Linked DNA regions of Homo sapiens: region 1 is linked to region 2. The links are contacts of gene promoters, found by promoter capture Hi-C in blood cells and fetal thymus (Javierre and others, 2016). All regions are on one chromosome and are shown on one strand. The core of a region is centred on a gene start or on the middle of the fragment in contact, and the rest is flanking DNA. Distances in the headings are between cores, read along the strand shown. Region 1 overlaps TLE4 (TLE family member 4, transcriptional corepressor). Region 2 holds the start of KIF27 (kinesin family member 27).

Evidence for each region. Contacts are between HindIII fragments. The CHiCAGO score rates a contact against its expected background, and 5 or more counts as called.
Region 1: a fragment that was not itself captured here is called in contact with the fragment with the promoter of KIF27 in region 2 in 1 of 17 cell types (non-activated CD4 T cells); the score reaches 5.3 in non-activated CD4 T cells.

Annotation. Positions count from the first base shown.
Region 1 is chr9:79,579,627-79,583,296 of GRCh38, forward strand. All of the region lies in intron 4 of TLE4 (TLE family member 4, transcriptional corepressor), which reads left to right. Among named protein-coding and RNA genes, the nearest start is that of TLE4, 9.5 kb to the left of the region's middle. The HindIII fragment of the contact is 4,336 bases long and covers 1-3,670 here.
Region 2 is chr9:83,919,216-83,923,132 of GRCh38, forward strand. It overlaps KIF27 (kinesin family member 27), which reads right to left and starts at 2,217. Exons shown (of 18, transcript NM_017576.4): 1 at 2,156-2,217. It overlaps LOC105376335 (serine/arginine repetitive matrix protein 1-like), which reads left to right and starts at 1,686. Exons shown (of 3, transcript XM_011519284.2): 1 at 1,686-2,046; 2 at 2,139-2,483. The coding sequence starts at 1,686. RefSeq lists enhancers at 1,749-2,498, 3,113-3,617 and silencers at 1,820-2,199, 2,230-2,379. The HindIII fragment of the contact is 5,103 bases long and covers 180-3,917 here.

The DNA.
Region 1 (3,670 bases), core at 832-3,331, 4.3 Mb before region 2:
GTATGTTTTATGTGTGTATTTTTATATGTGTGTGTATTTGTGTGTGTGTGTGTGTATATATATATGTATATTTAATCAAAGCAAGAAAACTCCTGTTTCACTTAAAGCCATGTAAATTTTATTACGAGACTTGGGCCACAACCATTTGAGTGCTGCTAAAATATTAATTGAATAGAAATGAAAGGGCCTTGCCAACTGATAGGATATCATAATCATAGCCTCTTTGGTCGATGGTAAATGATGATAAATGACATTAGGAACCTTTTAGCAAACTGTAATAACTACAAGGAGGGAAGCAGTATGGATTTGCATTGTATCTGATACCCTCTAGTACCAAGTGGATTGCCAATACTGCTTGTTTAGCATTTTCTAAGGGCAATAAGATATTGATTTCTGACTTACAAGGAACAGCTCTATTTTCACCATTGAAAAGTATTGCAGGTTGTTAAGAAGAAATTGACTTGAAGAGGCCGACTGCTGCCCATCATGGAGCAAATAAAGCAAAACTGCCGAAGCATGGTGGAGCAGCGAGACGGGCCCTCAGCAATTTGTTGCTATTAATTTACCATGCTCGACAGCAAATCAATCGGCATCTACTTCATCTGCTGGAGAAAATGCTGTCCAGGGCAGATAAAAGGCTCGGCATGGTACAGAGAATAGACTGGATTGGCCAAAAGCAGGCTGCAGTTAATGTGTAAATAAGTGAAATCAAGGCCACTGTTGCAGAGGAAGCTGTTGTTAATTAGGTTGGTGTTTTTTAGTGAACTATTTTAGAAAGCAGCTAGGATTTGGAGAGTAAGAAGAGATTTATTGAGATTGAAGTAATACATGACTGGCATGACATTCTAGCCTTGAGTGTACTTGAATCTAGGGTGCAGTAAATTTATTTGGGGACACTGCTTGCTATGAAGTTTGTTGAAAGTTCATTTTAGACCACATTTCCCTTATGATAACTTTTTTTTTCAACCTTGCCAGTTTTTTGCACATCTTCTGTCTTATTGTGTACTCTTAGATTTAGAAGAGTAGATGGAGGAGTAGGTGTTTTAGTATGGAGGCACAAATGTGTCTGTTATATTCTTACCCAGTGCCTTTTTTTTTTTCAGAGATAGGTATAATTGAACTCTTGTATAATAATGAGAGTGAACTATCATGGAAGATGGGGTGTTCTAGCTGAAAGTAACTAATAAATGAAGATTTTGCTGACAGAACTTTATCTTGCTTCAGAAATATTAGGAAATAACAATCTAGAGGGCCTGAATAGTGGGTAGATACTACTAGATTATAAAATCTTAAAGATGACAAGTGAAATTTTGATGTCTGCATAAACTTCAGATACAATTATAAGACTATGTGTGTGGGGGTGGGAAGGGTTCTTGTGTTTTTGGTTTTCATTAAGGTTTAAAGCCACCTTTTCTAATTTAAGATTATTTACACGCTGATAATATTCCACAATTAATGTTAACGGAGTGAAGGGTATTGGTGGTGTTTTTTCCCCTTTACCTCTCATTTGGGCATTTTAAAATAGGAGGCCAACTTCATTTACTCCTGTTTAGTAAATCTAAATGAGTGTAGGTTTTAAATTAGATTTTTTCCCAAAACCCTTCAGAAGGTCTAGTATTAGGGCAGTTGATAAGTAAGTGGAAGCACCTTGGGCAGGACCCAGTGACCTGTCCTTTTACTTATTACAGCACCTGCACGGGAAGCAGATCTGGAGGATGAAATTTAACCTGTTACAGTGTGTGTATGTTTTAGGGTGTGTGTTTTCCGAATACTGTGGGGAGTTCCCTTTTTCCTTCTCCCATGATGGATTCTTTTGTCTTTCTAGAGATACCATAGGAGGATATCTGGATTTTTCACCTAAGGCAGTGATTCTTGAGTGAAATTGGAATTTCCTTTCAATAGAAGTAAACATTTATTATATATCTGGCTTGCGCTTACCACTGGTCTGGGCACACTGCCAAAATTCTTATCGTTAGTTCTCATAATGATCCTAAGACAGGGATTATATCCAATCAAAAGTTGATTAAACAGGGTCAGCTCTGCACAAGGTGATACAGCTAATAGTTGGTGGATTCAGGACTTCAAATAAATTTATGTGGGAGGATATCTCCTGGGAGATGGGTTTGCTATGGGTTAGAGATTCAGGCCCCAGTTCATTCCTGAAATAGAGAGTCCCTGAACTTTAGGCTCATACGCAGAACCTCTTGAGTTGGGGGATTCTCTGCAACTGCCTAGAGTCCATGGATGGCTCAGCCTGCCCTCTGCTTGCAGACTGCTTTCAGTGGGTGAGAGGGTGAGGTTGCTTTCACTCGGAATCTCCCACATGTGGGCTAGGGAAGCTGCTTGCTTATCAAGATGGAATTTGCTTCCTCCCTAGGCAACCTATTTCTCATTTGTTTACAAACTTGTTCTTCTCTTTAACTTTTATCTTTTCCTGTGGCTTATGAGAGTGCCTACAGACAAGGGGCTGTTTGTTAATCACCATCTTGTGGGCTTTTGAAGGGGGAAGCTGGGAGGGGAAAATGTGATGTTTTGTAGCCTCTTTGTAGTTTAGAAAGAGGTTCGTCGATGCAGGAAATCACACAACTCAGTTTTAAATGAAGGCAGATGTTTTGCTTTTACTGTTAAAAGAATTTCTTTGCAGCATTCAAACAAAAGGATAGTTCCTTTTCACTGCCCCTTAATCCCTGCTGGATATTATTTATTTGTATTTATTATTTTGATGGGCAAAGTTCTTTGTATCTAGGTATATATCACTTTGATCTGTGTAGGAATGATGGACCGGACTAATGAGCTACATCTCTAGGTGCTGTTGCAGCACTGGTGAAGGAGACAATACAAGCACCAGCCCATTGTTCTTCACATTCTTCATTTAATCTTTGCTTTCCTAGAATACATCTTTTTTATTTCTTCTTTTTTTTCTTGTGTTATAAGATAGGTAGAGGAAACCAGTTGGGAATTAAATGTTTAAAAAATGCATTTATAAGTTATTTGTGTTTGTTTTTAATGTGGCTTTTTTTTTTTTTTTTTGCCTTTGATGTGATTCGATGGTTTGGTTTACCACTTCTGGACAGCAATAATGTATTTGGTGGCTAGAGAAAAGAGGGACAGGGATGTGAGTTCTAGAAGGCACTTTCTTGATCCCTCTACACACCCTCTTAAAATGACTCCAGCGTTCCAGCAATGGTGGTAGGTTCAGTGGTCCTATACTAGCTAAGTTATTACCAGTTTTGTAAGCTGGGCTGTTGGAGAGAAGCAGGGGGGCAGCACATTTACGCATGGGCAATGGAGTATTTACACTGATAATGACAGTTTGCAAGGCTTAGGACTTGTTCAAAGTAAGTATACTGCGAACAGTTTATGAAATTATTACTCTAAAGAGGAAGGGCCTCAGAAGTTTTAGTCAGAAGCAAGAGTTAGAGCTGTTTTGTCTTTGCCTTAGTAATAGCTCTCAGTGGTAGTTGTTTTCTATCTATGGAGAGGGATTTAGCTGGCATTCATCACCACAAATCTATATACCCTCTCTCTTTTCATTGGAACTTACCCAGCATTTATGCCAGGCTGTTGCTATTTCTATATCATTGACCCAAAACTTATCCCTGGAGAGCTGCACGTGTAACCCTTATTCCATCCAGGGGTGACACATGGGCAGGGTGTGGATTTTCTTAGC
Region 2 (3,917 bases), core at 967-3,466:
AATGGTATAGCCACTTTGGAAAACAGACTGACATTTCTGCAAAAAGTTAAACATACAGTTATCTCTTGACCCAGCAATTCCACTCCATCAAATGATCCAGCAATTCCACTCCCAAGAGAAATGAAAACATTGTGTTCGCATAAAAACTTACATACAAATGTTCAGTTTTGGAAGGATAAAGCTTATACAAAATTTAACAAGTAATCTATGACAATGTTTGAGTGCAGATGATGAAAAGTAATGAATTTGAGGTGAGGTTAGGTTCTTTGGAAAAGCTGCTGAGTCTTGAAGATTACCATTAAGTAACACAGACAACTAGACTGAAATAATATTTTATTAATAACACTAACAACAATGAATTGATAATATTCACTACCCTTGAAAAAAAAAAAACCATGGCCCAGCACGGTGGTTCACATCTGTAATCCCAGCACTTTGGGAGGCCAGGGCGGGTGGATCACTTGAGCCCAGGAGTTCGAGACCAGCCTGGGCAACATGGAGAAACCCTGTCTCTACTAAAAATACAAAAATTAGGCAGGCATGGTGGCGTGCGCCTGTAATCCCAGCTACTCAGAAGGCTGAAGCGAGAGGATCCCTCCTGAAAACAAAACAAAACAAATGTGAGCCACGATGCCCAGCCTCATTTCTTGGGGTTTTTAATGGTAATATCTATAAAGAATTTGGTTATAAAGGCAACTGAAACTTATTCTAAGCATTAAAAAAAATAATAATGGGGCCGGGCACAGTGGTTCACACCTGTAATCCCAGCACTTTGGGAGGCCAAGGCAGGTGGATCGCTTCAGCCCACGAGTTCCAGACCAGCCTGGGCAACATGGTGAAACCCTGTCTCTACTAAAAATACAAGAATGTGCCAGGCTGTGGTGACGCACCTGTAGTCCCAGCTACTTGGGAGGCTGAGATTGGAGGATCGCTTGAGCCCGGGAGGTTGAGGCTGCAGTGTGCCACTGCACTCCAGCCTGAGTAACAGAGCGAGACCCTGTCTCAAAACAAAACAAACAAACAATAGTAATGGTCCACAAACATAGGGCTTGTAAAACATCAATATACAAGAAATAAAGTTTTTACACAATCCATAGCACTTATACTTCAGATTCTGATCAATTATAGTCATCAGAAACATACGTATTATGTTGCCAATAAATGATTTAAAAAAAAGCAAAATCTGATTGGTCGTATTTAAGTATACTCAACGGGTTTTTGAAATCTGAGCAAAGGCAAGAGAAATATTGAATCCCTCATGTCATGTCACTGGTCAGGAATGAGTGTCTCCAAAAACCGTTGCCATCCCGTACCCTTGATTTCCCAGAAAGCAGTGGTTGTCTTAAATGTGTGGTTTGTTAATTATTTTCATAAAAAACTTGCCAGTAGATGGACAGTAAATCGCATACGGAGCTCAGAAAAGGCCCCAAATGCGTAAAGACGACAAAAGAGTAAAGAAGGGCAAACAACAAGGATTTTCAACACTGGAGACTTAAAAGGTGTTACTTAAAAGGTGTTTCAAAGAAAGAATCTGGGCGCTTTGCTCTTTATAGTCACCTGCCTCCGAGGGAGGGAGCTCTCGGGCTTGAATGTGCCCAAGGTTCAACCTCTACGGTAGGAAATGCGCCCAAGTTTCAACCTCTACGGTGGGAAATGCGCCCAAGTTTCAACCTCTACGGTGGGAAATGCGCCCAAGTTTCAACCTCTACGGTGGGAAAAAGACGCCTGCGATAAAACAAAGCGCTCGGTGGTGGTGGCCCTCGCGTCGCACCTCACGCCGTGCAGCGACACGAGACGAACACAGGGTGCGCTCTGAAAGGCCGGGTCCCGCGTTCCGGTCGATCGGTGTTCCCCGGGACCCGCTCCTCAGGGCTGACCCAACTTCCTCCGGAAGGGGCGCTCTGCCTCTAGTCGCTCGCCGGCTCCCAGCCCCGACCCCAGACCCCTCGGACGCCCCCATAGGCCTAGCTGGCGCCCCAACCGCCCACCCTCCGCTACCCACCCGCGGCGGCCCCGACCCCAAGCCGGAGCCTACTAGTCCCAACGGCCGGCTGGGGGCGCGGGAGCGGCGGGCGCGGCGGGCTGGAGGGCGGGCACCGCGAAGGGAGGGCGCCCCACTTCCCCGCACCGCCCGCCAGGCCCGCCGAGCACTGACCGGCTCGGGACAGCCCAGGCCCCTGTCGGCGAGCGCTGGACTCCTCAGCTTCGCTCTGCCACACCGCGCAGCCGCCGTCCGCGTCTTTTGTTGTCGCGAGTTCTCCTGGCAACCGGCGAAGCCCGCCTCCCGCCGCGTCCTCTCCTGGATGCCGCGTCCTGGCCCCGCCCCCATCCTGGCCACGCCTCCAAGCCCGCCGCGCAGGAGTCCTGCGTCCCCAGGAAGTCCGCAAAGGGCCGGCCCCTGGGCTTGCCTGCAAATCCGAGTTGTGTCCCACCAACGCGCTGGGACCGGTCTGTGAGGCCTGAGCGCAAGCATCTTTCTACGGGTTCGTGAAATGAGTGAGAACGATTCCACACCGTGTTTCAATATCTTAGCTACCAATTCAGTTTATTTTTATTTTTATTGAGTAAAACTTGCCTAACATAAACCATCTTAAAACTCACAATTCAGTGGCGTTTAATGCATTCACAGTGTTGTGCAACCATCACCTCTGTATATAGTTCAGAAACATTTTCATAACCCCAAAAGAAAATCCCCAAACCAGTTAGCAGTCATTCCTTCTGGTTCCCCTCTCCCCACAACCCCAGCCAGCCACTAATCTACTTTCTGACTCTGTGATAGCTTTACCTATTCTGGGCATTTCTTTATTGATGGAATCATTCAGTATATGACCTTTTGTGTCTAGCTTCTTTTGCTTAATGTTTTCAAGATGCAGTCATGTTGTAACATCTATCAGGACTTCTTTTCTTTTTTTTCTTTTCTTTTTTTTGAGACCGAGTCGCGCTCTGTCGCCCAAGCTGGAGTGCAGTGGCGTGATCTCGGCTCTCTGCAACCTCCACCTCCCGGGTTCAAGCGATTCTCCTGCCTTAGCCTCCCGAGTAGCTGGGATTACAGGCGCGTGCCACCACGCCCGGCTAATTTTTTGTATTTTTAGTAGAGACGGGGTTTGTTTCACTGTGTTAGCCAGGATGGTCTTGATCTCCTGACCTCGTGATCTGCCCGCCTCGGCCTTCCAAAGTGCTGGGATTACAGGCGTGAGCCACCACGCCCGGCCCTTTAGATGGAGTTTCGCTCTTATTGCCCAGGCTGGAATGCAATGGCGCCATCTAGGCTCAACGCAACCTCCACCTCATGGGTTCAAGCGATTCTCCTGCCTCAGCCTCCGGAGTAGCTGGGATTACAGGCATGAGCCACCCTGCCCGGCCCTATCAGGACTTTTTAGGGCTGAAAAAATTCCATTGTATGGATATAGACATACCACATTTTGTTTATCCATTCTTCAGCTGGTGGTGGACATTTGGGCTGTTTCCATGCTGCTATGGACATTCACATACAATATTTGGATGTCTGTTTTCAGTTCCTTTTTTTTTTTTGAGATGGAGTCTCGCTCTGTTGCCCAGGCTGGAGTGCAGTGGCGCTATCTCAACTCACTGCAAGCTCCGCCTCATGGGTTCAAGCAATTCTCCTGCCTCAGCCTCTGGAGTAGCTGGGATTACAGGCATGTGCCACCACCACGCCTGGCTAAGTTTTCTGTATTTTTAGTAGAGACGGGGTTTCACCATGTTGGTCAGGCTGGGCTCGAACTCCCGACCTCAGGTGATCCGCCCACCTTGGCCTCCCAAAGTGCTGGGATTATAGGCGTGAGCCACCGCGCCGAGCCTGTTTTCAGGTCTTTTAGGTATGGACGTAAGAGTGGAATTGCTGGGTCGTATGGTAATATTTAACTTTACCAATTTAGTTTTAAATGCTTTAATGCCTC